Regions from separate parts of the Homo sapiens genome. Here all the other regions are linked to region 3. Evidence: promoter capture Hi-C in human tissues and cell types (Jung and others, 2019). All regions are on one chromosome and are shown on one strand. The core of a region is centred on a gene start or on the middle of the fragment in contact, and the rest is flanking DNA. Distances in the headings are between cores, read along the strand shown.

What was found. Contacts are between HindIII fragments. The study calls those that stand out against the background at their distance.
Region 1: a contact is called between a fragment that was not itself captured here and the fragment with the promoter of WIPI1 in region 3, in 2 of the 25 tissues and cell types used here (heart right ventricle and neural progenitor cells).
Region 2: a contact is called between a fragment that was not itself captured here and the fragment with the promoter of WIPI1 in region 3, in 1 of the 25 tissues and cell types used here (aorta).

What each region holds. Positions count from the first base shown.
Region 1 is chr17:68,721,247-68,723,946 of GRCh38, reverse strand. No RefSeq gene overlaps it. Among named protein-coding and RNA genes, the nearest start is that of LINC01482, 94 kb to the right of the region's middle. The HindIII fragment of the contact is 4,290 bases long and covers 1-2,700 here.
Region 2 is chr17:68,743,718-68,746,417 of GRCh38, reverse strand. No RefSeq gene overlaps it. Among named protein-coding and RNA genes, the nearest start is that of LINC01482, 120 kb to the right of the region's middle. The HindIII fragment of the contact is 6,081 bases long and covers 1-2,700 here.
Region 3 is chr17:68,456,190-68,458,889 of GRCh38, reverse strand. It overlaps WIPI1 (WD repeat domain, phosphoinositide interacting 1), which reads left to right and starts at 1,394. Exons shown (of 13, transcript NM_017983.7): 1 at 1,394-1,548. The coding sequence starts at 1,469. It also overlaps a transcript of PRKAR1A not described here. RefSeq lists silencers at 952-1,238, 975-1,654. The HindIII fragment of the contact is 15,120 bases long and covers 1-2,700 here.

The DNA.
Region 1 (2,700 bases), core at 32-2,531, 270 kb before region 3:
TGAAGATCAGTCTTCACTACCACAGATTCATTACTTTTTGGTCCAAAACAATGGGATAGAGGAAAATATTCTAAATGTCCTGGACTTACTAATGACTTATGTTATTAGTAATGATAGTAGGTAAGTCTTATAATCTCTGGACGTTAATTTCTCCCACTTCAAGAATGGAGAACTAAAGTGTCCCATGCAGGATTGAGGAGATCAAATAAGAAAATGCGTATGAATCTCTTTTGTAAAGAATAAGATATACCAATGTTAATGACAGTGTTGCTGTTACTATTTTTACCCTCACTGTGATCACAGGGCATTGGCCACCAGATTCAAGAGTGTCATTAAAATCCACATTTAAGGATAAGCAAGATCCCACTCTTTTCATCAAAATGTAATAGTGTGGCATTTGACTATTTAGCTTTGATTCTCAGAAGTATAATTCATTGAAACTGAACTGGGCTGAAAGATTATTGGATAATCTATCGGCTACCCATGTTTTTATTTATGAGTATTTTCTCTGTGTCAAAGCAACTAACCTTTTCTTAATTCTTCTTTAAGGAATAAAAGTAAGTTTTAACCCATTTCTATGTTCATTTTTCCTTCTGACATCCTGTGAGGCTGGCAGTTTTTCATTTGTGTAGGATGGGCTCAGATCAGCCTGATTCAAAAAGAGTAAGAACATTATCCCAGAAGAAATAAGAGTAAAGCTGAAATGGTCTTATCCTTCCATATGATGGAGGCAGCCTACATAATCTGTCTAGTTCTATTTTTTATTTCACTCTAGAGCTAATAAAACACATTCAGTGATAATTCTGTTAGCAAGAGATAGTGCAAATAATGGCAATAAATCTGCAGGACAATTCAAGCTTCTAGAGCTTCTATGGATCATCTAAAAGAATCAAGTTAATATCTGAATGCATTAATATATGTGTGCCTGGCACATAGGATGCTTCACGAACTTGGTAGCTTTTAATATTGAGTGACAGCAGTTGCTTTTTGTTTGCTTTTTTAGACAGGGTCTTGCTCTGTCACCCAGTCTGGAGCACAGTGGCGCAAACACGGCTCACTGCAGCCTCGACCTCCTGGGCTCAAGCAATCCTCCCACCTCAGCCTCCCAAGACACTGGGATCAAACGTGTGTGCCAATTTGCCCTGCTGATTTTTTTTAATAGGCATGGGGTCTCCCTATGTTGCCCAGGCTGGCCTTGAACTCCTGGGCTCAAGTGATCCTCCCACCCTCAGCCTCTTAAAGTGCTGGAATTATAGGCATGAGCCACCACTCCCAGCCAACAGATCTTCATTTATGAGGTGGGACAATGCAGCACAACTAGGCCTGTCTTGTGTTTCTTACTCTAATTTTCATCTCCTTGATCCCATTCGGTAAAGTGGAAGCCCAATAACAGAAAGTACTTCTCAGGTCCCAACTTCACCTCCTGTCAAACTCTGGCATCCTTTAAAGTCCTGATGGCACCATCTAGGGGTCCCCAGGTAGTGTCTCCTGATGAAAGATAAACAAGTCTTGTCTTCTAAAAAGGACTTGCATCTCAGCCTTCCCACAAACAGACCCATCCAAGAAACCCTCCAAGACATCATTAAATGTCAGGGTAAATACAGTATCATTTGCCAAAATAAGACCGGGCTGACTTATCATAGTTTCCCCACAGGAGACAGCACAGCACCTAGAACCAAGATTTTGGAATCTGACAGACCCAGAATCAAATGCAGCCACAGCTATTTACTAAGTGTGACATTAAGTCATTTAACCTTTCTGATCCTTATGTTCCTTGTAAATGGGAGCTATTTGAAACCCACAATATATTTGGTCAATCTGTTGCTTCTGTACAAAATTTGTATTTTATCAAATACTTGTATGTAATTTATTAAGTGCTTAGCAAACGTCAACTCATTTAATTCTCCTACCAAGCCTATGGTGTAGGTACCATTTTTATCCACATGTTATAGACGAAGCCAGCAAGACACAAGAAGATAAAATAGGTCACAAGGTCACACAGAGTGTGGCAGAGGCGAAATTCAAACCCAGGTATTCTGGCTACTGAATCCTTATTTTTAACCATCATCCTAGCTAATCTTTAATAGCCAAACAAGGAAGTATTTTTTAAAACTTTTTCAGGGAATTAGTTTTTAAAATAAGAAAGTATTTTTTAAACCATGTTGTCATGGACATTTTCAAACACACAAAAGCAATGAGAATTCCTTGTGCATTGCATTTTCCTCTCATTGCAATAAAAAATATCTTTGTTATTCTTTTTGATCTTGCTCATATCATTGGCTAAATTACAGTACTTACCATAATTTACCTTTTGTCTCCTCACACAATCATAAAAGTAATCATGGTGAGTTCTTATATTTGTGCAGTACTTTCTTTCTTTCTTTTTTTTTTTTTCTTGAGATAGATTCTTGTCCTGTCACCCAGGCTAGAGTGCAATGGCGCGATCTCGGCTCAATGCAACCTCCACCTCCTGGGTTCAAGCAATTCTCCTGCCTCAGCCTCCCAAGTAGCTGGAATTAAAGATGCATGCCACCACTCCTGGCTAATACATATATATATATACATTTTGTATCTTTAGAGACAGGGTTTCATCATATTAGCCAGGCTGGTCTTGAACTCCTGACCTTGTGATCCACCCACCTCAGCCTCCCAAAGTGCTGGGATTAAAGGCGTGAGCCACTGTGCCCAGCCTTGTACAGT
Region 2 (2,700 bases), core at 25-2,524, 290 kb before region 3:
TTACGTTTGTTTCTCCCAGAACCTAGTTCATAGTCAGTACCAATAAATGTTTATTAAATGATATAGACAAAGGTAAGATTAAAATGTATTATTGATTTATGTCTTTCTTTGGCTGCTGGACACAAGCAATCGCCATCCGTCTTAAATAGATAACATCAGCATAAGGCTCTTTTCCGTTTCTATACATATATCTTAGCCATCAAATTAAATGGGTTGTCATTGGAATGAATCACAGCCAACACACTACTATATATTTAACATTCAGGATGTTGTGGGTACACAAGCCTCTTAGAAGTGAGTTAGGATCTTCAAATAAAATAACTTAAATCCAAGAGCCACAAACACAGGGGATTTAGATGGGTTTCCTGATCTGCATAAGAATGACTGACATAGGATTCTTTAACATTAACACAATCCAGAAACTCATGGAAATGTTGACTTTTATTCTTTCTTTTATGATGAAAGGTTTCGGGCATCCTCTCCTACAAGTGTCTGCAGACCATGATGCTGAAGGATCATATCGCCCACACCTGAATGACCCTCCAGAGGAGCAAGGCAACTTCTCCCTTGTGCTTGTCCAGCAGCCTGTTCCCTCCTTCTGATCTCCTGTGCTGATTCAGCCAATCTGCTCAAATTGATGCAAGAATCAACCTGCATCAAGGCGCCACTGTGTGAGTCTTGTATGATAGTTACCACCAAGTTAGACACCACTGAAACGGGAGAAGTTTCTTTATCCCCCTTGCAGGGCATGAAACAGGAGTGTGGCTCACTTCTTCAGTGCCCTGCTGCTCAAACCCCTAGGGGAAGCATGAAGATGGGCAGGTCGTGGGGTGTGTTTTGGGGCTCCAACCCCACAGCAGCATCTAGGGTTGAGTGTTTACAGCTCCCAAAGCCCCAGTGGACATGTGTTACATTGTGCTCCTTCAGCTTTGCCACCTGCAGGTGGCTTGTGTTAATCAGCTCAATTAGACCTTCTGCCTTATTGCAAGGACAGAGGGCTTTCTGTATCCTGGGTTCTTGCCTTAGTGTACAGGAAAAATTGGATCACTCGTGGGCTTGGAGAATAAGTGCAAGGTTTTACTGAGTGGTGAAAGCAGCTCTCAGTAAGGTGGATGGGGAGCTAGAAAGGGGAATGGAGTGGGAAGGTGGTCTTCCCCTGGACTTCGTCCACCCAGCAGCCAGACTCACCTCTGACCGTCCCTGGCCAAATACCCCTTGGCATCCACGTTGTTCCACCATCGATGGCTTGCTGGTGTCTACTGGTGTCTGTCAGTGTGTTCTGGACATTGTGCACCTCCCAATGTCCAGCCACTTGTGTCAATGCCTGCTATGGTCTCGGATTTTTATGGGCACAGGATGGGGGGCATGGTGGGCCAGAGTGGTCTTGAAAAATGCAATATTTGGGTTCAAAAACAAGAGTGCCTGTTCTCACTTAGGTCCATGGGCTTAGGCCCGAGGGTAGAACCCTCACCAAGGACCCCACCCTTCTCTACCCAGCACTTCCCTGCCCCCTTCCTGTATCATTATGATTAAAAACTCTTAGGGTCTAAAGCCAGGCTGATGAACCAAGCAGAGGATATGACAAAAGTAGATTTGGCCTCTAGTCTGCTCCTCAGTTATGCTGGCCATGTCTGATCTAAACGGTGAAAGTAGGGATGTATGAGATGAAAGAAAAGGGAATACAACCTTCGTATGAGTTCAAAAATGACCAAATGAAGGTGATCTGGAGTAGATATCTGCTCTTCAAAACACTTAGCCATTTGTGATAACTTGTGGTTATCTTCTTGCTTTCACTTCATCTGCAGACCTCAAACAATAGCCCCTGGAATCATATGTGACTCAAACACTTCTTCAGTTGTGATTCCTAAATAGAAAACATTATTCTCTGGCAGAAACAAATGCTACGGAGCTGCGAAAAAGGAAATCCAAGTACAGCCAATGTCTCAAAGAGTGTTTTAAAAATGAAGGAAAAAGAAGCTTTCAAATACACTATTACTTCTCAACAGCACAATTGCTCCTTCAATGTTGAAAACACTCTCTCTGGTATCAGGAAATAAATTACCTTCATGCTAAGTCAAAGGACAGGCTGGAGAACTGGGTAGGAATTTATCCCATTTTCCCCACCTCCACCCCTCACCACTTTTCCAGGAGAAATTCTAAAGTTACACCCCTTCTCAGCCAGGGATCCTGCAGGGAATTAAGCCCTCAGATCCTAGGACATGCATTGTATTAACTTATCTTGTTTGCATCGAAAATGCTCCTAACTCTGTACTATCTATGGGAGAATTGAGAAAATAGTCATTCAAAGCATTTTCTGTAGGACTTAATTCTCTCAAGGAACACCGGTTGAATAAGTCTGTAGGTAAGAGACTAGATTTTGTTTATTAGCAAGCAGAGCTGAACATCTAAGTGAATATTGTCTCTTATAAAGTAAATATCTTCCTCTGATTCTCATATCTCAAAACAGCTTTGGGACTACTTTTTGGGAATGAACTCCATGGCCCATAGCAACATTCCTTTGACTCTTCAGCACTGGCAAATTTTCATCTTTTCTATGAATTGCATTGAACTAAACACAAATATAGTGAAATGTGCAAGCCTTAAGTATGCAGCTCAAGAAACTTTTACAATGGCAAGACATTCACTCAACGGCCTCCTAGAACCTCCTACATTTTTTATTTTATTTTATTTTTTTGTAGA
Region 3 (2,700 bases), core at 145-2,644:
GGGGAAAACCGCAATTACTTTTGCACCAACCTAATAAATTTGAATTATGCTGATTTGAGAGACTGTCATATAACAATAACTAAAATATCATCTCAAAATTTGAAAAAATGAATTAAAAATCCATCAGCAGTTATACAATCCAAAGCTGGCAGAGCTCCTGCTTCATAAACCGTATTGACAGTAATTCCGCATGGGAACATGTACAGTACTCAGCTTTTAAAAAGAGATTCTTTGTTAAGGTTTATCTCGAATTACGTGAGTTTTGAATTGTGCTATATCTTCAAGACGTTACCCCTTTCATAAACTACACTGCCCTACACACACTTTCATTTTTTTCAGCTGCGGATCGGATAGGTCTTGTTTAGATACTTTGTGCCATTTTTGTAACTTTTCAGATCAAAGGTGCTTCCCCCCACCTTCCAGCTCCGTCAAATGCTGCAGTCATTTCTGTCCTGGTTAGAAAACCTAGAATCTCGCATGCTAGGTGCTACGTTGTTTTTGCAAATTACTGTTTAGCAGTTATTTAGTGCACAGGTCTTGAAAGCAGACATGCAGACATTCTACCATTTACTGTTACTTTAGACAAATTGTTTAGCTTTGGAGCTTCAGTTGCCTCTTCTGTATATTGAGCACAATCGTATTTTCCACACAAGTTTTATAAGAATTCAAGATGACATACATAGTACGGCGCGCTTGGCAAGTAGTGAGGGTTCTCAACCGCTCGGCAATGGATAAGATAACTTGCTATCTCTCTGGCTGAGGCAGCCCCATTTCAGGAGCTTCTCTCAATGCGGCTTGAGGACTCGACAAAAGGGTGGGGCTTTGGAGTCTAACGCTCTCTGCTAAACTCTGTAAGTTTAATAGGCAGAGTTACACATGGCAAGGGGTCTGGGCGGGGTGGGAACTAGCGCGTCCTCCTGTCACCCTTGCGGCGGCCCCGACGCAGTTGCCGGACTGAAACCAGCAGATCTGGCCCCAGCCGCATTCCTTCTTCCCTCTCCCTCCCAGCTGGGCGGCTCCGGCAATGAAAACACCGCCACGTGGGCCTGCTGCCTTTGCGTCACGCGCCTTTGTCCAATGGAGAGCCGCGTTACGAAGCCAGGGGCGGGTCGCCAGCCGGGCGGGTCCGCCCACAGCTGCCACGGATTGGCCAAGGGGGGCGGTGCCCGCCAGCCGTGGCTTGGGCTCGTGGCCAATGGTGGCCGGAGGCAGGGGCCCCGCCCTATCAGGTGCTCTGGTCCTCGGGACCAGCTGGAGGGGCGAGAAGGGGCGGGGCGAAGCCGGGGACGCGGCGGGGACGGGGCGGGGTAGGGGCGGGGTGGGGACGGGGCGGGGTAGGGGCGGGGTGGGGACGGGGCGGGGTAGGGGCGGGGCAGGACCGGCGACCCGGCCCGTGGAGCCGGCGCGGGCGGGCTGCTGAGGTGGCTGTCGCCGGCTCCGAGCTGCGGCTTCCCGGGCCGAGCCCCCGATGGAGGCCGAGGCCGCGGACGCTCCCCCGGGCGGGGTTGAGTCGGCGCTCAGCTGCTTCTCTTTCAACCAGGACTGCACGTAAGCTGCGACTCGGCCCCTGCCAGGGAGGTGGGGGACAGAGTGTCAGGACCCAGGGGTGTCGTCCTGAGAGCAGCTTGTGGCTTCCGCCTCGAGGCGGCCTCGGCGGGAGGGCCGGTGTCTGCTTCGGACGCATTGGGATCTTGTTATCCCCGTACCCCTTCAGTGGGGTTTGCCGCACCCCCCACCCCACCCCACTCCCAGTGTCCTCCCAGAGCGACAAGGTTGGGCCAAGGGTGAAAGCAGGGAGTTCGCAAAGGGAGTGGTGGGGCTGCGGGGGCCACGGAATATGGGGGGAGCAGGGCGGTGGGAAAGCCAGTGACCAAAGTGGGTGTCTGGGGAAGAGAGACAGTGGCCAAAAGAAAGAGATGAGAAAGGAGAGGAAGTTGCAAGTTGACCCAGGACTCTGTAGTTGGGGCCCAGGAAGATGAGAGTACAGGAAAAACTTTCCCATTTGTCCTTGAGCATCTCAACGTGGCATCTGGGCAGGGCCTCGGACAAAGAGGCAGCCTATCCCTGCGGCCAGGCCAGCCCCTGTCCCATCCCCGACGCAGGGCATCGTGCCTGCCCGCTCTGGATGGAAGAAACCTTTGGATTTCTTTGGCTGTTTTCACATCGCCCACCCAGCCAGGCAGGATCTCCTTCTCGGAGTCCAAGACTCTTTTCCCGGGCGCAGACTGCTTTCTCTCCAGGAAACAGGAGCTCCACCCTGTTGTTTTTGAGTGGATTTTTAATGTTTTACTTCGATGTTCACATTTGGGCTTTGAGAGGGAGCTGGGCTGAAGTGTGTTTCAGGCATCTGCAGGATTCTGTGACTTACAGGCAAACGCCTGTTTCTTTCCCTATTTTCATGGAAGCGAGCCCTGGGGACCATATGGAATCATCTTTTTGGAATGTGCACCCTGAGCATCAGGCGGGGATGACCGATTCCCAGTTTCCCACTTCCTGCTGTACCAGTTTCTGTGCCTTGGCTGCTGGTGACTGAGCTACGCTAATATTGATCCTTCAGTGGTGTAATTAAGGCCATTATGTACCATTAGCCACCCTGGCTTCCATTCCCTTTATGTTTCTGTTTAAAAACACCCGGTGCTGAACAATATGCCTTTGTTTGAAAAACCCATATGTGTAATCATGTAATCGAGTAGCTCTACA